Linked DNA regions of Homo sapiens: regions 1, 2, 3, 5 and 6 are each linked to region 4. The links are contacts of gene promoters, found by promoter capture Hi-C in blood cells and fetal thymus (Javierre and others, 2016). All regions are on one chromosome and are shown on one strand. The core of a region is centred on a gene start or on the middle of the fragment in contact, and the rest is flanking DNA. Distances in the headings are between cores, read along the strand shown.

Region 1 (3,285 bases), core at 705-3,204, 580 kb after region 4:
CCCGGGTTCAAGCGATTCTCCTGCCTCAGACCCCTGAGTAGCTGGGATTACAGGCATGCGCCACCACCCTGGCTAATTTTGTGTTTTTAGTAGAGACGGGGTTTCTCCATGTTGGTCAGGCTGGTCTTGAACTCCCAACCTCAGGTGATACACCTGCCTTGGCCTCCCAAAGTGCTGGGATTACAGGTGTGAGCCACCGTGCCCGGCAAATTTTATAGCTCTTTTTTTTTTTTTTTTAGATGGAGTGTCTTGCTCTGTTGCCCAGGCTGGAGTGCAGTGTCGCAATCTCAGCTCACTGCAAGCTCCACCTCCCGGGTTCACGCCATTCTCCTGCCTCAGCCTCCCAAGTAGCTGGGACTACAGGTGCCTGCCACCACGCTTGGCTAATTTTTTGTATTTTTAGTAGAGTTGGGGTTTCACCGTGTTAGCCAGGATGGTCTTGATCTCCTGACCTCGTGATCTGCCCATCTTGGCCTCCCAAAGTGCTGGGATTACAGGCGTGAGCCACTGCGCCCAGCCCAATCTTTCTTCTTTTTCTCTATGTTTTCTCTCACTTTGTCTTATCTTTTGTTCTCTTCCTCTTCATGCAGGGTGGTACGCGTGGGAGCTGGGTGGGCTGTCCAGTGTGTTTCTGCCTGCAAATTGCAGGTCAAGGTAGACTGCTTTATTTCTTAACCATTGACATATTTGAAACTGGTACCTTTTTATGTGTCACAAAGATTTGAGTATTGCACACCTAAACCCATTTCTCTATAGGCCTTGCAGTTTTTGTTGTGTGGTTTGTGTAGACATGTTGTGAGACAGCAGCACTGAGTGTTCTATGAACAGGAGAACCAAATAATAGGAAAGTAGTGATGCTTTAATAGCTAGCGTGGGCTTAGCTATCACAGCGTGGTGACCGTGGGTTGAGTGTTAGTATGAGGTTTTCATTTTAAAAAATGTATATATATATAGAAAAAGACGAAGAAACTACGTTGTATACCCTTCCCTTTGCTGGTGTTTAACATCTGCTGTGTGTGCTTTCTCTTTCTATATACACAGTGTCATGATCATTTGAAAGTAGGATGCAAACATCATGGTATTTCACCCCTAAACAGTTGAGCATGCTTTTTATAATACAGGTGTTCTGTGTAGCCACAATACCATGAGCACACAAGATAAATAACAATGCCACAATATCTAATAATGCAGTTCATATTAAAATTTCCAAAATGACTTTTATAGCCTCCCCAACCCAAGATTAATTATCGTGTGTTGCATTTGTCTCTTTGGCCACTTTTTTTTTTTTTTGTGAGACAGAGTGTTGCTCTGTCACCCAGGCTGGAGTGCATTGACACCATCTCAGCTCACTGCAACCTCCACCTCCCGGGTTCAAGCAATTCTTCTGCCTCAGCCTCCCGAGTAGCTGGGATTACAAGCGTGCACCACCACACCCAACTAATTTTTATATTTTTAGTAGAGATGAGGTTTCACCATGTTAGCCAGGCTGGTCTCAAACGCCTGACCTCAAGTGATCCACCCGTCTCAGCCCCCAAAACTGCTGGGATTACAGGCGTGAGCCACTTCGCCCGGCCTTCTTTGGCCACTTTTCATCTAGAACAGTAGTCTACCTTTTGTAACTTCACCTGTGCTTCATATAATAGAATGTAGAGCAGTGGTCTTCAAGCTTGGCTGCACTTGGGAAGCTTTGCAAACTCCCAAAGCCTGGCCCCACCCCAGACCATTGAAACCTCTAGGGGTGAGCAAGTGTTGTGCAAGTGTACATGAACAAGTGTTAAATGTTGAATGTGATCAAAGGGAGACAAATAGGCTAGAGAGGCAACAGTCTTCCTAGATCCGCATACTACTGATGTAAGTCTTGTCATACTGTTGGCTTATGCTGAGTTTGGGATTAGCCAATAATAGCCACCATTATTGAGCATCTACTGTGCCAGGCACCATGCTTCATGCCTTCATCTAATTCTATAGCCCTGTGAGTATGTAGCTAGTGCCTCATCTATAAAATGAAGAGATGGCATTAGAGGTTAAGTAATTTTCTTGCTCAGGGTCACACAGGAAGTGACAGCCAGGATGCAGACCTAGCTCTAACATCTCCAAAGACAGCTGGCAGCATGGCTTAAAACTTATGTTTTTAAATTTTTTTATTTTCCCCCTAAAACTTAATGTTTATAAATACTGCCAGATTCTTTCCCCTGGGGGTAGTTGACTTGTTTGGAAGCTTGGATCATAGCTTGCTTTATTTTTTATTATTTATTTATTTATTTTTATTTTTTGGCTAGTGACACAGCCCTCAGGAGATCTTGAGAACATATGCCCCATGAGCTTGCTTTTTAAAAAATTTTATTTTTTGAGATAGTCTCGCTGGTGCCCAGGCTGGAGTGCTGTGGTGCCATCAGATCTCACTGCAGCTTTGAACTCCTGGGTTTAAGTGAACTCCCACATCAGCCTCCTGAGTAGCCCAGACCAACCACAGGCATGCACCACCATTCCCATCTAATTTTTCTGTAGAGATGGGGTCTCACTGTGTTGCCCAGGCTGGTCTCAAACTCCTGACTTCAAGTGATCCTCCCACCTAGATCTCCCAAAGTATTGGAATTACAGGTGTAAGCCACTGTGCCTGGCCTAGGCTTGCCTGCTTGCTTGACTTTTGTTTTTTCAGAGTCCCACTCTGTCACCCAGGCTGGATTGCAGTGGCGCAGTCAAGGCTTACTGCAGTCTTCAACTCCCTGGGCTCAGGCAATCCTCCCACCTCTGCTGGGACTACAGCACGAGCCACCACACCTGGATAATTTTTGTATTTATTTTATAGGTGGGCTTTCACCATGTTGCCCAGGCTGGTCTCAAAACTGGCCTCAAGCAATCTTCCCAATTTGGCCTCCCGAAGCACTGGAATTATAGGTGTGAGCCACTATGCCTGGTTTAGGCTTGCTTTCTGTGTTAAATTTTATGTGGTTTACACTTCTTACCCTCTAGTTCCATCCAGTATAATAGCCAGTTGCTTGAACTTTATCTCTTTCACCAATTGTTTGAGTTCTGTTTCTGTAAGTATCTGGAATCATTTTTCTCTAGAACACTTCAGAATGTACACCACTCCCAGTACCATACTGTGTAATGAAGGGATGGGGGGTGGGGACATCTTGAAATAACGTTTTCTAAAGGTATTAAATTTCAAAGTCACCAGTCTCTGAACCCACCATGATAGGACAGAAATCTAAATATTTTTCTCAAAGTGAAAATAGCAATAAAATCTGAGAACTATGATTTCTAATGAATAAACTTGAAAGC
Region 2 (3,329 bases), core at 380-2,879, 560 kb after region 4:
ATGTAAGCTAAAATTCTAAAACTCTTAGAAGAAAATATAGGCATAAGTTCTTATGACCTTGGATTAGGCAGTGGTTTCTTGGCTATAACACCAAAAACAAGCAATCAAAGAAAAAATAAACATCAAAATTAAAAACTTTTATGCATGAAAGGATACTATCAAGACTAGTATAAGCACATGAAAAGGTTAGGGAAATACCAGTCAAGACGCAATGAGATACCATTTCACACCCACTAAGTTGGCTGGAATAACAAAGATGGACAATAACAAGTGGGGCAATTGGAACCAAGGATGTGGAGCAGTTAGAATCCTCAAACATTGCTGATGTGAATATAAAATAGTGTAATTGTTTGGAAAACATTTTGGCAGTTGCTTAAAAAGTTAAGCATAGTTACCATGATCCATCAAATCTGCTCCTAGGAATCTACCCAAGAGAATTGAAAACATGTCTATATGAAGATTTGTACACAAATGTCCATAGCAGTATTCTTTTTTTTTTTTTTGAGACAGTTTTGTCTTTTCGCCCAGGCTGGAGTGAAGTGGTGCAATCTTGGCTCACTGCAACCTCCACCTCCTGGGTTCAAGCAATTCTCCTGTCTCAGCCTCCCAAGTAGTTGGGATTCCAGGCTCCTGCCATCACACCTGGCTAATTTTTGTATTTTTAGTAGAAATGGGGTTTTGCCATGTTGGCCAGGCTGGGTCTCGAACTCAACCTCAGAGTGATCCACCCACCTTGGCCTCCCGAAGTGCTAGGATTATAGGCATGAGTCACTACGTCCGGCCAGCAGTATTATAATAGCAGTAATATAATATAGTGCTATTATAATAGCACTATAATAAAATAGTGGAAACAAATTTTATTTGATGAATGGATAAACAAAATGCGATCTATCCATACAATGGAATATTATTCAGCTATAAAAAGGAATAAAGTACAGCATGGTTGAACTTGAAAGTATGCTAAGTGAAAGAAGCTCAACACAAAAGCTACATATCATATGATTCCATTTACTTGAAATGTCCAGAATTGGCAACTCCATAGAGACAGAAAGTAGATTAGTGGCTGCCTAGGACTGGGAGGAGGCAGGAATGGGAAGTGACTAATGATAGATAGAGGTTTCTTTTGGGGGTGATAAAAATGTTCTGGAATTAGGGGTGATGGTTGCACAACCTTGTGAATATACTAACAAGTACAGAATTGTACACTGTAAAAGAATGAATCTTATGGTATGTGAATTTATCAATTTAAAAACAAAGGGGAAAAATACATACATACTTATAATAAGACAACCCAATAAAAAACGGACAAAAGATATCAATTGACATTTTAAAACCATAAACCTTCATAGTTAACATTTGAGGGCTACTTACGTGCCAGATAACAAACACTTTATTTTATTTTATTTTTTATTTATTTTAGAGATGGAGTCTCACTCTGTTGCCCAGGCTGGAGTGCAATGGTGCGATCTTGGCTCACTGCACCCTCAGCCTCCTGGGTTCAAGTGATTCTTCTGCCTCAGCCTCCCGAGTAGCTGGGATTACAGGCGTCCACCACCATGCCCAGCTAATTTTTGTATTTTTAGTAGAGATGGAGTTTCACCATGTTTCCCAGGCCGGTCTCGAACTCCTGACCTCAGGTGATCCGCCCACCTCGGCCTCCCAAAGTCTGGGATTACAGGCGTGAGCCGTTGTGCTTGGCTTTATTTTATTTTATTTTATTTTATTTTATTTTATTTTATTTTATTTTATTTTATTTTGAGACGGAGTTTCGCTCTTGTTGCCCAGGCTAGAGTGCAATGGCACGATCTTGGCTCCCTGCAACCTCCGCCTCCCGTGTTCAAGCGATTCTCTTGCCTCAGTCTCCCGAGTAGCTGGGATTACAGGTATGTGCCACCGTGCCCAGCTAATTTTGTATTTTTAGTAGAGACAGGGTTTCTCCACGTTGGTTAGGCTGGTCTCAAACTCCTGACCTCAGGTGATCGCCTGCCTCAGCCTCCCAAAGTATTGGGATTACAGGCGTGAGCCACTGCGCCTAGCCTATTTTATTTTTTAAGAGACAGTGTAGCTGGGCACGGTGGTTTACGCCTGTAATCCCAGAACTTTGGGAGGCCGAGGCGGGCAGATCATGAGGTCAGGAGATTGAGACCGTCCTGGGTAACACGGTGAAACCCTGTCTCTGCTAAAAATACAAAAAATCAGCCGGGCATGATAGCGCGTGCCTGTAGTCCCAGCTACTGGGGAGGCTGAGGCAGGAGAAATACTTGAACCCAGGAGGCGGAAGTTGCAGTGAGCCCAGATCATGGCACTCTATTCTAGCCTGGGTGACAGAGTGAGACTCTGTTTCAAAAAAACAAACAAAAAAAAGAGACAGAGTCTTACTGTATTGCCCAGACTGGAGTACAGTGGCAGAATTGTAGCTCACTACAGCCTCCAACTCCTGGGCTCAAGTGATGTTCCCATCTCAGCCTATAGCTTGGAGTACAGGCATGTGCCACTATGCCTGGCTAATTTTTTAAATTTTTTCTTAGAGGTAGGGTCTCACTGTGTTTCCCAGGTTAGTCTTGAACCTGGCCTCAAGGAGTCCTCCTGCCTTGGCCTCCCAAAGTGCTGGGACTACAGGAGTGAGCCTCTGTGCCTGGCCATAGATATTAAGCACTTGACACTTACTTTTTTTTCGTTGTTTTTTGTTTTTTGTTTTTTTTTTTTTTTTGAGACAAGAGTCTCACTCTGTCGCCCAGGCTAGAGTGCAGTGGCGTGATCTCGGCTTACTGCAACCTCTGCCTCCCAGGTTCAAGTCATTCTCCTGCCTCAGCCTCCTGAGTAGCTGGGATTACAGTTGCGCGCCACCATGCCCGGTTAATTTTTGTGTTTGTAGTAGAGACAGGGTTTCACCATGTTGATCAGGCTGGTTTTGAGCTCCTGACCTCGTGATCCACCCTCTTCTGCCTCCCAGTGTTGAGATTACAGTCGTGAGCCACCACGCCCTGCAGCACTTGACACTTTGTAATCTTTATAGCCAACCTCGAGATAGGTACTATTATTATTTCCATTTTATAGATTTAGAAATAGGAACTGGTTAAATAATAATCTAGTTAGTGAGTGTTGGACTAAGATTCAAACTCAGGAACTCAGTTTTTATTGACTATACTGTGTCCTGTTTATATACTACATACTGTGGTTTACTGTATAACCTTCTTGCACAGACCTTTGTGTGGACACTTCATTTCACAGGGCTGACTAACCACCTCACCATGGCTCTTTTTCCCCTTTACAGATCTATTAATGAGATGAAGCGGTTGGAAGAAATGTCAAATATGTTTCAGAGCTCT
Region 3 (3,533 bases), core at 613-3,112, 660 kb after region 4:
TGCCTGAGATTGCGGTTCACCCGCTGTCCTGGAGCCTCAGTGCAGGGCCACGGAGGGCAGCTCTCGCTCCGCTGAGTGCCTGTTGCAGTTTACCTGCGCCACTCTGATCACAGCTGGCTGCGAGCTCTTTGGGGATGTTCAGCCCCTGTCAACCTAGGGCATCCACAGCTGCAGGGACAGACCTGCATCCAGGGGCATGCAAGGGAGTCCAACGCAGTGGGGCAGCTTGCACGAAGGGCTGTCCTGCAGGACCTTAGCTCCCTGCACTCCCTCTCCTCAATTCCTCCTCTTCTCTTTGTTTAAATCAAATCTTCTGTTGAAGAATTCTCTAGAAGGGCTCAAAGTCATCAGCTTGGCTGGGCGCGGTGGCTCACACCTGTAATCCCAGCACTTAGGGAGGCGGAGACAGGCGGATCACCTGAAGTCAGGAGTTCGAGACCAGCCTGGCCAACACAGTGAGTCCCCATCTCTACTAAAAATACAAAAAAATTAGCTGGACATGGTGGCGGGCACCTATAATCCCAGCTACTAGGGAGGCTGAGGTATGAGAATCGCTTGAACCCCGGAGGCAGAGGTTGCAGTGAGCCGAGATTGCGCCATTGCACTCCAGCCTGGGCAACAAGAGTGAAACTCCATCTCAAAAAACAAAAAAACTCACAAAAATTAGCGGGCCATGGTGGCATGTGCCTGTAGTCCCAGCTACTCAGGAGGCTGAGCCAGGAGAATCGCTTGAACCTGGGAGGCAGAGGTTGCAGTGAGCCAAGATTGTGCCACTGCACTCCAGCCTGGGTGACAGAGCGAAGACTCTGACTCAAAAAAAAAAAAAATTCCTCAGCTCTGCCTCACCGACTACAGTTCCATCACATTAGTAATCTCTCTCTCTCTCTCTCTCTCTCTCACACACACACACACACACACACACACACACACACACACACACACACATCCCTTCCTGCTCAACAGCCCCACTCCTCAGGCGCAGTCAGCTTGGAGCCCCTGGAAGCCCCCAGCCTCTGGGCTCTCTTCTCTCCCAGCTGGGTCGCCCCTCACCCCTGGCCTGCCTTTCCAGGTCCAGGGTGTTATTTCAGGGAGGTGCTGGGGTCTGGGTCCTGTCCTTGAGGAAGCTCCCTTGCGATGACCCTGGAGGCTGTTAAGAGACCCCTCTGTCATCCCAGTGATGCCAGCCAGGCAGAGATCTGGGCTTGGGGCAGGAGCCCCGAGGCATGTGAAAGGCCAGGGCTTCATCCTCCCAGAGCCTGGGATCCACCGACAAGCAGGCCCTCTGCAGAGGCTGCGCCCCCCCCACCAGCTCTTGGCTGCCCCAGCTCTTGGCTCCCTCTCCCTACCCTCCGAGCTCCCTAGGGCTGGGATGCGTCCCTCCCGTGGACCAGGCAGTCCTGGGGTGGATGTCCAGGAGGTTCTGTGGGTGTGAGGCCAATGGCCCAGAGGACAGAGGAGAAAGGGCAGCTGTGGATGCCGCAGGCTTCATGGAGCTCCCCTAGGCTGGAGGGGGCTGGATGGGAGCCTTGGCCTTCAGGGTCCCCCAGACTTGAGAGATTCCACCAAATAGAGCCCAGGCCCCACAGTTACCCTGTAGTATTTCCCAAATACTGGGAGTGTCCAGTGGGTTGCAATAGAAATAATCATCTCAAGGGCCACAGTGGTGTAGTGTTGTAGAGAGCCAGGTGCAGAAAACGCTTTCTGTCTCTCCTTTTCTTCTCATCCACAAGTGCTGTCTCTAACTTTTTCCAGAAAGTGCTAGGGGATGAGGTTTGTAAGAATAGCCTGTCTCTAGATCTGCCCAGGAGCAGTTCTTGGCCCTGGGAATGATCTGGGGTGGGACCGTGTAGAGCAGTTTAGTTGCTGTGTGACCTCAGAGAAGTTACTCAACTTCTCTGACTCTTATATTATCATCTGTAAAATGAGGTTCCTGCTGCATCTCACTCTCAGGGTCCTGAGGAGAGTTAGGTTGAGATGCTTGTCACGGAGGCAGTGTCCATGCACAGGGCCTGGGTTTGCTGTCAGCCCTAGGCAGGATGGGTGAGGAGGTGGGACCTGGGTGCTTGGCTGTGGCTCAGAAGGTCTGTCCTGGGGTGGCCTGGCCTCAGGGACTAGGAAGGTCCTGGCTAGGCTCAGGTGGAGGGAAGGGTCTGGAATGAGGCAGGGGCGAATGGGGCCTGGGGCTGCCTCTGAGACCCTGTTTTTGGACTGCAGCACCCACCAGAGCTGCCACCTCTTCTCTTGGTTATTCACCAGGAATTACCCTAAATGCTACATCTGTTGTCATAACAACATCTTACCCATCCTTAGATAAAAGCCCTGTTTGCAGGGGGGTCAGGCTGTCTCCAGCTCCCCAAGCTCCATCACTGTCCCTCACAGCCCTCCTTGGGGTTCCACAGCTGGTCTTCCTCCCTCCCATTTTAGTTTTTTAGAGAGATCACTCCTCTGTTTCTAAATTTCTTCTCTGTCTCCCTTTGTGTTCCTGGGTCTCTCTCCGCTCCCTTTCCCTCACTCTCTCCTCTCTCCTTCCTTCTTCCTGGACCCTGAGCCTCCTCTCTTGGTTTCCCTCGGTCCCTTCTCGCTCTCCCTCCCTCCTTCTGCCCGCATCCCTGCATGCAGTGGGGTTGTGGGAAGGTGGCTGGTGGGGACAGGCGGGGCCTGCTGCCTTGGATGGGTCTGCTCTGCAGGAGCCTCAGGAAGCCCCTCGGGCTCTCCAGCCTGGGGTGAGGTGAGCCCAGGGTGGGCATGTTGCTGCACGCCCAAGAGCTTCCAGCCTCTGTGGTGTGCGTGGCCAGGAAGGCCTAACTGCTCTTGCAGAAGTGTGGCCAAGGGAGCTGCCCTTACCCCAACCCCAACCCCGCCCCAGCTTCAGCTCAACAGTCTCTGGGGTTCCAGCTCTCCTGCTGTCCTGACTGGGGCTTCACACACTTGTCCAGTGCCGACTTCTGCTCAGCACCATCCTAAGGGCACCCACACAGAGGCCACACAATGGTTCCAGGAGGGGTCATCTTTCCATTTTACAGCTCAGGAAATTAGAGACCAGAAGGGTCAAGCAACTGGCTCAAGGCCACACAGCTGGTCAGTAGAGGAAGTGGGACATGAAATTCCACTCCATAGCCAATGCTCTTAACCAGGATGCTGGATGGACGACTTCTTCCTCTCGGTCCCCTTCCTCTTTCTCCTTCTCACCCTCCCCCTCCTCTTTGTCCTTCTTCCCCTCCCCCTCCCCTTTCTCCTCCTCCCCCTCCCCTTCCTCTTCCCCTTCCTCCTACTCCTCTCCCCTCCTCCCATTCCTCCTCCTCCCCTCCCCTTCTCTTCCTTCTGCCTCTCCCCCTCCTCATTTCTCTCCCCTCCCCCTTCATCTCCCCCTCCCCTTCCTCCACCTCCTCCTTCTCCTCCTCCTCATTCTTTCTTACTGTGTGTCGGGCCCTGCATTTAGGAACACTGGGAACTCATCTAGCTTCGTAGCAACCCTACAAGGTTAGAGCCACAGTTATCTATTTTATCAATGAGAGAATCAGGGCACAGAGAGG
Region 4 (3,209 bases), core at 69-2,568:
CGAGTATAGCCGCTTTCCATTATCTCCGACATGGTGTTGAAGTCCAGGATGGCATCGCTGCGGATCATGAAGCAGTCCTGGAGCTGGGTCATGATATCCTCTACAGTTTTGGTCCGTAGTTCCAGGGCACCCTGGATCATATTGAGCTCCTCTTTCACGAGGTCATTATAGGGCTCCGTCACCTTCAACATCTCCATCAGCTTCTCCCGGTTGTAAACAGTGCGAATCTCCTGGCCCAGAAAAAAGTCCAGGAGCTTGCTAATGGGAAAACTGAGGGGGAAGGTGAGTAGCATAAAGAATTTGGTGAGAAGGATGGTGTTGGCACCCACAGCCAGCCCATGTCGGGAGCACAGGGCCTGAGGTAGGATCTCCCCAAAGATGACAATGCCAATGGTGGAGGAGGCCACCGCCATGAGGCCGGACCCGATGAGGTTGTCTAGAAGGATTGTGAGGGAGGTGTTGACCAGCACGTTCCCTAGGAGCAACGAGCAGAGAAGGTAGTTGCCCTTGCGCCGGATGGGCTCAATCTTGCGGGCATAGCGCCTCTCCTTCTCGGTGCCACAGTTCTGCACGATGCGCAGCTCCATGGGGTCCAGGGCCATAAGCCCGAGGTTGAGGCCAGAAAATATGCCCGACAGCACCAGCAGCACCGTAATTAGGAGAATGTGCAGCCAGAGAGGCAGGAACCTCCCAGGCTCCTCCACCATGAAGAGCAGTGAGTCCTTGTCCGTCCACTTCAGCCAGGGCCCGTCGGGCTGGGCCCGGGTGCACAGTGCATACAGCTTCATGCTCTCGCTCCTCCGGAGGAACTTGGTGAGCACCACCAGCACGCCGGACGTGTTCCCGCGGCTCACGTTGACCAGCTGCTGGACGACCAGGTCCTTGGTGAGCTCGAGGCAGCTGGTGGACTTGTGGAGGGTCTCGGCATCGTCCACCTCGGTGAAGGAGATCAGGTTGCTGGAGATGTTGCCCAGGCTGTAGCCGTACAGCCTCAGGTTCACGGTGCTGCCCTCGGACACGAAGATGATGCCATCCGGGTTCGTCCCACACGACTTGTTGCAGCTCGCCAGCCTCATGCCCACGATCGTGCCCTGCTGGGGGCTGCCCTGGCCCCGGGCCCCCAGCGCCCACAGCAGCACCAGCAGCACCGGCGCCGCCAGGAGGAGGCGCCCGCGGGCCGGTCCGCCGACCGGGCGCCCGCCCCCGCCCACCGGCGCCATGTTGCTCTGGCTCTGCCGCCGCCGCCGCTCCCCGCGCCACGCCGCGCGGCCCCGGTCCGCACCGCAGCTCCGGCCGCTCCGCTGCCGCCGAGCCAACTGCCCGGGCCGCGAGCCTGACGTCAGGTCAGCGCCCCGCCCGCCCCGCCCCGCCTGCCCACGCCCCTCATTTGCATTGGAGGCCCCGCCCCCGGGGCTCGCTGCTTGAGCGCCCGCCCTTAAGGGGGTACAGTCGCTTAAGGTGGAGCAGCGCCGCCGCGCGAGAGCCGCCAGCGGGTACCCGCCCAGTGCTCCGCCTCCGCGCCCTTCCCCGCCTTTCTCTGCCAGTGGGGCCAGCTCTCCTTCTCCGGGACCTGGTCTCCTAGCTACGCCGTTCCTGTTCCTCGGCCTCGCACGGCCGCACGTGGGAGGCTCCTCTCCCGTCCCTCACCTGCAGCTAGGGGTGGCCCGCTCTGCAGGCAGGGCGAGAAAAGTGCTTTTCCTGATGTAGAAAAAGAAAAAGGAAACCTGAGGGCTTAGGCTGGCATTGCAGCCTGCCCCTTGGAGACTTTTCTGGCCTCCTCACTGCTGAGATTTTTGCCGACCTTGTCCTAAGGCCAGAAGTAGGTTACCCCAGCCCCAGCCCCAGCCCGACGATGCTTCCATCAACCAGTGGCTGCCTGATGTGGAAGGCAAATCTGGGGAACTAAGGTTATAGAAGGGGCAGGCTCTGGCCTAGACTTCTCTCCTGTCTCTTCCATTTAGGCATAGATATTTATTGAACACCTACTTTGTACCAGGCACTTGTTCTAGGCTCTGACAATAGAGCAGTGAACAAGCCAAAGTCGCTGCCCATTGGGGTTTACAGTCTAGAACAGAAAACAGGAGATAAACAAGTAAACACATATATTCATTAAATCCCCCCAACAACCCTCAGAGTTAGTAGAATTATTTCCATTTAGAGATGCAGAAATTGAGCCGAGACAAAAATCCTGGTGCCTCCATACTGTCATCTCCCAGCCCATTTCTCCATCTGTAAATGGGGGTAAGAATGACAGAGCATTACTTCGCTAAGCTTGCGGGATTGTGGACCTAGACATTGAACATGACAGGACAGCTCTTTAGAATATTCTTTGGCTAGGTAGTAGTTGTTGCTACCTGCCTTCCAGGACCAAACTCCTAACCCCAAATTGTGGTGATTGATCAGCTGGGCAGCTGCTTGTGGACATGAGCAGGCAGGCGCGGCAGTGGGCCTATCCCTGAAATGACTGCTTCCTGAATGGCCCTAGCCCTGTGTCAGTAGGGTGTATAAGGAAGACCACAGCTGCCCGCCCTGTGAGGGGGAAGAAGACAGACAGATAAACATCCTTACAATAATTGCACAGGTGCACAGAGAAGATCAGGTACTGGGTTGACCACCAGGTCTCACAGCAAATCTTTTGCCAGTACTGAAGACACAGAACCCACTTTACTCCCTTCCCGCACTGACACTTGTATTTATTTTCATTTTGGTGTAATGTTTGCTAATAAAAGCAGCAATCAGTACCAAACGGAAGGAGCCTAAACAGAAAGGATCACACAATGTTGTGGGAGGAGGTGTGGTAGCAGAGAGGCCCTGACTCAAGAAAGCCCTGTTAGCTGGGATTGAGGGTTCTGTAAACTAGGCCAGCCTGGAGAAGTATGTTGCTAGTAGGGGCCCCACTCATAGCGGATACTTTGCAGTGAGTGCCCAGCAGGTCAGTTTTTTCGAGGAATAGGAGCCTTGGAATGGGCACTGGCTGAGACAGAACAAAAGCAGAACCTTGACTGCCTGTTCCTTCCCTGTCTCCACCAACCAGGAAGAGCTACCTGAATTGCCTCAAAGCAAACCCAGCTCTCCTCATCTCCTAGTGAGCTGTAACACCAGCGCCCTGCTCCACCCCTACCCCCACCTCCCATACTTAGAAACTTTCCCATTCTATTATCAATCAATTGGCTATTTTTTCCCTTTTTCTTATGATTTTATTTTTTTCT
Region 5 (3,291 bases), core at 616-3,115, 530 kb after region 4:
TGGGCTTTCATCTTAAAAGGAACAAAGGCAGTGTGTGTCCAGGTATAGGCTGGTAGATTTGGTGATGGGAAAATGAGGCAGTTCTGGTCTAGTTGTTTCTTTTTTTTTTTCCGAGACAGGGTCTCAATCTGTTGCCCAGTGCAGTGGCGAGATCATGGCTCACTAACTCCTACTGCTTCAATCTCCTGGGCTCAAGTGATCCTCCCACCTCAGCCTCCCAAATAGCTGGGATCATAGGAGTGCTTCACCCTGCCTGGCTAATTTTTAAATTATTTTTGGTAGAGACAGGGTTTTGTCATGTTGCCTAGGCTGGTCTCAAATTCCTGGGCTCAAGTGATCCTCCCGCCTTGGCCTCCCAAAGTGCTGGGATTACAGGCTTGAGCCACTGCACCTGGCCTGAGTTGCTTCCATTTTCTCATTAAACAAAGCAAGTCATCAGCTGAGATGTGAATCTCAGTAATACTGTCTGTATCATGAGACCTGTCTCCTTGGCCATAATTACCACAACCGGACCGGGGATGAGCTCCTAATCCAAGTGAAGGCACTTGATTCTTTCTTTTGGGAGCTTGAAGTGAGGATTCAAAGACATCAGTGTCAATTAGTGCTCAAACTGGAAGGATTTGTAAATTTAGAAACTGGGTCAGACATTTTTCTTTATATAAATGGAAAAGCTGAGAAGATTAGGTAGGGGTTGGGTGAAAGAGTAAAGCAGAAAGGAAGTAGAAAAGTAGAAAGAAAATAAGAGTCCACATAGACTTGGAGTTGCAAAAGAGGAATTACTTAGGTTCCTGTCCTAAGGTTTGAGTCCTCTGAGAAGATGCCCAGATAGGACTAAATGTGCAAGAGATGTGCTGGGAAAACACTTGTGAAGCGAATAGCAGGAAGCCGGAAGAGCCTGGGAGAGCTGCAATGCAGGTGTAGCCCCTGCCAGGAGACAGGAATGGAGGAGGGCTGGGTTGAGGAGGTGTTAGAACGCAGTGTAGTTCTTTCTTTTTCAGAGACAGTCTCCCTTTGTTGTCCAGGCTGGCCTCAAACTCCTGAGCTCAAGCAATTCTCCTCCCTCAGCCTCTTGAGTAGCTGGGACTACACATGCCTAACCATGCCCAGCTTAGAACGTAGTGTAGTTCTAAGAAAGCTCTGCAAGAGCTGATGAGGTGTGCTTGTGCCAAAGCCACCTGTCAGAGGAGTCCCCATATCCCAGAAATGGGCCTGCCTTAGTATGGCAGGCCTGCACTCAGTCACCGGGTGGGAGCAGCTCACAAGAAGGGTGGTCTCAGTGCAAATGCAGTGGCAGAATTTCATAGCCCAGCAGCAGGGGGCCATGTTACGCTCCCCTGCATTCAGAGATGTGAGCAGTGCACTCTCATGGCCACAGCTCCCAATGCCTTTTCAGTTCCTTTTTCTACCACCTTATGATGCGCAAGTGCCTTTCCTGCCTGTGAATTCTGAGCTTCTTGAGACACTCCTGGATCTTTCAAATTCGATTCCATATTTATGCTTAAACTACTTTGAGTGGATTCCAAGTACTTGCAACAAAAACAACAACAAAAAACATAGATTGAAATAGTAACAAGGGGACTATAATCTAAATTTTCTATATAAGAGGGGATGGAAGGAGGTAATAATAATTCTAGCGCTTATTCCTTATACCCTGTAGAGGGTTCTACAGTTTGTAATGTATTTTAGCTTACACAATCTTATTTGAGTCTTACAACAACCTCTGAACACAAGTAAGGCTGGCATCATTATCTGTATTTCACAGATGAGGAAGCTGAGTTTCAGAGACAATACAAATTATGCTGAATTGAAAAAAAATGGAGGCCGGGCGAGGTGGCTCACGCCTGTAATCCCAGCACTTTGGAAGGCTGAGGCAGGTGGATCACCTGAGGTCGGAGTTCGAGACCAGCCTGACCAACATGGAGAAACCCCATCTCTACTAAAAATACAAAATTAGCTGGGCATGGTGGTACATGCCTGAAATCCTAGCTACTTGGGAGGCTGAGGCAGGAGAATTGCTTGAACCCGGGAGGCAGAGGTTGCAGTGAGCTGAGATAGTGCCATTGCACTCTAGCCTGGGCAAAAAGAGCGAAACTCTATTCAAAAAAAAAAAAAAAAAGACAAACCATATAAATGTTAGCCTCTACCTATAAAAGCAGTGAGCCAAAAGCAGCACTGCATTCCTGGAGAGATTGCAGAAATTAGTTCCACCACTAATCAATGATCTGAAAGACACAGAGCTGATGATTTCCATTCAGCTTAGCTCTCTAGCCTGTGCAGATCCAAGATGGATCCAAGAGAATGGCGTGGATTATTATAAACTCAATTAGGTTGTGACTCCAATTGCAGCTGCTATTCTAGGTGTGCCTTCATTCATGAAGCAAATCAATGCATCCCTTGGAGCAAAGTATGCAGCTATTGATCTGATGAATGCTTTTTTCCTCAGCAATTTTTAGTAAAGACCATCAAAAGCAGTTTGCTTTGAGCTGACAGGGCTAGCAATACCTATTCGTTATCCAAACTCAGGACTGTATCAATTCGCAGTCATCTGTCATCATCTAGTTTGTGGAGACCTTGTCCTCTTCTCTACTCCACAGGACATCACATTCATCTAATGTGTTGATAATATGCTGATTAGAAGTAGTAACTATTCTAGCCACCTTGACGAGATATATGTATGCCAGAGGGTGGGAAATAAATCCCACAAACATTCAGTGAACCTTCTGGGGGGCCTAACGGTCTGGGGCATGTTAAGCTGGGCCCTACTACCACTAAGAGGCACAATGCCCAGTGGTTTTGGATTTTGAAGGCAATGTATACCTCATTTCAATGTTCTTCTCTGACCCATTTTCTGAATAACTTAAAAGGCTATCAGTTTTGAGTGGGGCCCAGAAGAAAAGATGACATTGTCATGACAGTTCCTGACTTATGAAGGTTCAACTTAATTTTTTTTACTTCAGCAATGATGCGAAAGCGATGTGCATTCAGTAGAAGCTGTATTTCGAATGCTGGATTTTGATCTTTCCCTAGGTGAGTGATATGTGGTGCGATGCTCTCTCGTGATGCTGGGCAGCAGCAGTGAGTGCAGCTCTGCCAGCCACAGGATCACTAGGCTGGATGACCAATATTCTACAGTGGGCTGTATGGACGGATCACTTTGCCCAACTGTAGGCCAATGTAAGTGTTCTGGGCATGTTTGAGGTAGGCTAGGCTAAGCTATGATGTCCTGTAGGTTAGGTGTATTCAGGGCATTTGCAACTCAGGATATTTTCTTTTCTTTTTCTGAGATAGGGT
Region 6 (3,331 bases), core at 58-2,557, 620 kb after region 4:
GACACAGGGGTCTGTGGGGGAGCCGGAAGGGTCTTTCAGAGGGCACGGAGGAGGGCCTCAGGAGACTGGGGGCTTGGAGGGTGGGTTCTGAAATCCCACGCAGCTGGGGGCAGGGCGAGGGCAGCTCCAGCGCAGTGACGCTGTCTCCACCCACCTCAACTTCTCTGCTTGAGTTTGGGAGTTCACTGCCAACAATTCTTGTGGCTCAGACACCCCACGCACACCTGGGCCTCACCACATCCGGCAGCAGGGCTGGGGGAGGGCGGAATGGAGGGGATACCCAGGCCCCCAGTCCTCCGGGTGCAGTGCTAGCCCTGGACTTTGCTGCCCGGCGGGGCTGGACAGGGAGGCCTAGGATGGGGGAGGCCAGTTCTGTTCTGCTTCTCCCTCTTCCCCTTGCCAAGGTCTTGAAATCCCCGCAGGCCTGGGGAGGGCCGGGAGCGTCAGCGGACTTCCCTCCAGGGCGGGCTTGTGGCAGGGGGAAGTACTTCTCTCTGGGGCCTGGGGGCTTTCCCTGCACCCAGGAGGAAGAAGCTTTGCCCTACACATAACTGGAAACCAGTCACAGACCCCTGCTTTCCCCATGAAAGGCCCTGGGACCCCCCCTCATTTCCCTTCGGCCCAAGCCCAGGGGCCTGGGCCCCGGGGACTGTGTTCTGGCCTAGCTTGGCCACCAACCTACTGCAAGACCCTGAGTACTGGTCTTATCCAGGCAATGGGGGGTGGGGAGGGGGAGGAGAGAGAAAGTCCCTCTGGCTCAAGGTCTCCAAATAGATGAGAAATAGGACATCTCAGCAGGGACCCCCCCCATCATCCAGTGTAGAAATCACCCGTGGCAGCAGGCATTTGTCAATGTTTGTGGTGACAAATTTCTAAGAGGAAAATTCTGGGAGGGAAAGGGAAAAGGCAGAGGAAGCGTGGGGTTAGGGGGTGGGGTACTCCAAGGGTCATCGTTGGCCCTAAAGGGGGACCTGCATCTGAGAAGCTGGGTTCCCCAGGACTGAGTGGCTTGGGACAGGTCAAAGGGTGGGCGCAAAAACGGAGGGGTGCTAGTCCCTCCGACTCCGGGTAACACCTTCCCTTCCCTTAGTCGCTGGTCCCCGCCTCCTCCCGGTGTGTTGGTCCCCGCGCCCTGCCTTCCCCCTCAACCTCCCCCCCGCCCCGAAGTCTCCAGGTCAGCCCAGACTGCGCCCCACGTGAGGGGCGGGGGCGGGCGCGGGCGCCAGCGCCTTCCTGCTCTGCCCTTGTATGGTGCCCCGGAGGCCGGCCCACGGGTACTTAACCCGGGCCGCCGCGGAGGGCGCCCGGAGTCGACCGCTCGGGCAGCGCCACCGCCACGAGAGCCCGGGACGCGGGAAAGACCGAAAGGAAGAGGAAGAGGCACCGGTGGCCATGGGGCTGGAGGCGGCGCGCGAGCTGGAGTGCGCGGCGCTGGGCACGCTGCTGCGGGATCCGCGGGAGGCGGAACGCACGCTGCTGCTGGACTGCCGCCCCTTCCTGGCCTTCTGCCGGCGCCACGTGCGCGCCGCGCGGCCAGTGCCTTGGAACGCGCTGCTGCGGCGCCGCGCGCGCGGCCCTCCTGCCGCCGTTCTCGCCTGCCTGCTGCCCGACCGCGCGCTGCGGACGCGCCTGGTCCGCGGGGAGCTGGCGCGGGCCGTGGTGCTGGACGAGGGCAGTGCCTCGGTGGCGGAGCTCCGGCCCGACAGCCCGGCTCATGTGCTGCTGGCCGCGCTGCTGCACGAGACCCGCGCGGGGCCCACTGCCGTGTACTTCCTGCGAGGTGAGCAAGCCGGCCGCCCTTGGCCCGCCCCACCCGACTCCAGCCCGGCTTTCCCTGCTGATCGTGCTCTTCCCCTCCTTGCAGGAGGCTTCGACGGCTTCCAGGGCTGCTGTCCCGATCTGTGCTCTGAGGCCCCCGCCCCTGCGCTGCCGCCAACAGGGGACAAAACCAGCCGCTCCGACTCCAGGGCTCCTGTCTACGACCAGGTGAGTATTGACCCCCCTCCCCCGAACCTCCCTCTCTCCCCGCCGCGGACTGGGCGCCTCTAGGGAAAGAGCCTGCCATTTGGGGATGCGAGCAGTTTGCCCATATACACACACTTTTATACGTGTGTGTGTTGGGGGAGGGGGTGGGGCATGGCTGCTCGCGCGTGCCTGTATGGGTCTGTGTATGTTTGCATGTGTATGTTGGGAGCATGAAGGGAAATGTATGTCCCGGTGTGTCCTCCGCACATTCCTGAGACCTGTCTCAGGTCAGGAGGACTGGCTGAGGAGTCCTCTTGTCTCGGCCAGCCCATGGGGTCTCCACCCGCTGCTGCTCCAGCTCTCCGGGGCTGGGCTGGAAAGGCCTCACCGCCCCTCTGTTCCCTCCAGGGTGGCCCTGTGGAGATCTTGCCCTACCTGTTCCTGGGCAGCTGCAGTCACTCGTCAGACCTGCAGGGGCTGCAGGCCTGTGGCATCACAGCCGTCCTCAACGTGTCCGCCAGCTGCCCCAACCACTTTGAGGGCCTTTTCCGCTACAAGAGTATCCCTGTGGAGGACAACCAGATGGTGGAGATCAGTGCCTGGTTCCAGGAGGCCATAGGCTTCATTGGTAAGGGGGCACCTCTGCCCAGAAATCCCGAGGGGCTCCAGAGGAGAGGACTGGGGGCACCTGTCTCCTGGGCTGTGCACATTCCGTCTGACACCACTCCCCCATCTCCCTTGCAGACTGGGTGAAGAACAGCGGAGGCCGGGTGCTGGTGCACTGCCAGGCGGGTATCTCGCGCTCTGCCACCATCTGTCTGGCATACCTCATGCAGAGTCGCCGTGTGCGGCTGGACGAGGCCTTTGACTTCGTTAAGCAGCGCCGGGGGGTCATCTCCCCCAACTTCAGTTTCATGGGGCAGCTGCTGCAGTTTGAGACCCAGGTGCTGTGTCACTGAGGTGGTGCCCCTCTGCCTGCCTGCCCCACTGTGCTGGCAGGAGCTGACTGTGGACTGGTGGGCTCCCCTCTGGGCCAGCACAGTCCCCTCACCTCTGGCAGGGCTGCTACCTCCTCAGAGTTTCAGAAGCCCCCACATGGGGGCTCTAGGAATGCCGGCATGCTGGTCTTTCCGACCTGGTGCTCTTCTGCTGGGGGACTGAGGCTGGCCCTCATTCGGGGTCGGGAACCAAGGGTGTGTCTGCTCTTTCCCTCCCCATCCTCTGGCAGAAATCAGCTAGACGCTATACCGTGGACTCTCCCTGGTCCACCACCATGTTGAAGCCCTTGGCAGCCTGAGAGCTCCAAGGAACAAGCTGTGACAACCAGGAGCCCTGTCTGTGGGTTCGTCTGCCCAGGGCCTGGAGC

The links. Contacts are between HindIII fragments. The CHiCAGO score rates a contact against its expected background, and 5 or more counts as called.
Region 1: a contact is called between a fragment that was not itself captured here and the fragment with the promoter of CNNM4 in region 4, in 5 of 17 cell types (naive CD4 T cells, total CD8 T cells, non-activated CD4 T cells and 2 more). The highest score is 7.9, in naive CD4 T cells.
Region 2: a fragment that was not itself captured here is called in contact with the fragment with the promoter of CNNM4 in region 4 in 2 of 17 cell types (naive CD8 T cells and non-activated CD4 T cells); the score reaches 5.6 in naive CD8 T cells.
Region 3: a fragment that was not itself captured here is called in contact with the fragment with the promoter of CNNM4 in region 4 in 1 of 17 cell types (activated CD4 T cells); the score reaches 5.5 in activated CD4 T cells.
Region 5: a fragment that was not itself captured here is called in contact with the fragment with the promoter of CNNM4 in region 4 in 7 of 17 cell types (naive CD8 T cells, activated CD4 T cells, non-activated CD4 T cells and 4 more); the score reaches 6.6 in naive CD8 T cells.
Region 6: a contact is called between the fragment with the promoter of DUSP2 here and the fragment with the promoter of CNNM4 in region 4, in 7 of 17 cell types (total CD8 T cells, naive CD4 T cells, activated CD4 T cells and 4 more). The highest score is 7.3, in total CD8 T cells.

What each region holds. Positions count from the first base shown.
Region 1 is chr2:96,179,478-96,182,762 of GRCh38, reverse strand. No RefSeq gene overlaps it. Among named protein-coding and RNA genes, the nearest start is that of STARD7-AS1, 27 kb to the left of the region's middle. The HindIII fragment of the contact is 533 bases long and covers 1,688-2,220 here.
Region 2 is chr2:96,195,495-96,198,823 of GRCh38, reverse strand. It overlaps STARD7 (StAR related lipid transfer domain containing 7), which reads left to right. Exons shown (of 8, transcript NM_020151.4): 2 at 3,275-3,329. Among named protein-coding and RNA genes, the nearest start is that of STARD7-AS1, 11 kb to the left of the region's middle. The HindIII fragment of the contact is 7,570 bases long and covers 1-3,329 here.
Region 3 is chr2:96,099,599-96,103,131 of GRCh38, reverse strand. No RefSeq gene overlaps it. Among named protein-coding and RNA genes, the nearest start is that of ADRA2B, 15 kb to the left of the region's middle. The HindIII fragment of the contact is 7,542 bases long and covers 1-3,533 here.
Region 4 is chr2:96,759,011-96,762,219 of GRCh38, reverse strand. CNNM4 (cyclin and CBS domain divalent metal cation transport mediator 4) reads right to left here and starts at 1,318. Exons shown (of 7, transcript NM_020184.4): 1 at 1-1,318. The coding sequence starts at 1,220. RefSeq lists enhancers at 93-681, 561-810, 682-1,271, 1,831-1,880 and silencers at 774-957, 1,081-1,500. The HindIII fragment of the contact is 3,226 bases long and covers 1-2,273 here.
Region 5 is chr2:96,232,071-96,235,361 of GRCh38, reverse strand. All of the region lies in intron 1 of STARD7-AS1 (STARD7 antisense RNA 1), which reads right to left. Among named protein-coding and RNA genes, the nearest start is that of SNORA112, 19 kb to the right of the region's middle. RefSeq lists enhancers at 1,111-1,260, 1,271-1,340. The HindIII fragment of the contact is 9,545 bases long and covers 1-3,291 here.
Region 6 is chr2:96,143,416-96,146,746 of GRCh38, reverse strand. It overlaps DUSP2 (dual specificity phosphatase 2), which reads left to right and starts at 1,307. Exons shown (of 4, transcript NM_004418.4): 1 at 1,307-1,780; 2 at 1,865-1,986; 3 at 2,374-2,593; 4 at 2,710-3,331. The coding sequence starts at 1,393. The coding sequence ends at 2,924. RefSeq lists enhancers at 1-627, 1,424-1,925, 2,328-2,377 and a silencer at 938-1,697. The HindIII fragment of the contact is 7,151 bases long and covers 537-3,331 here.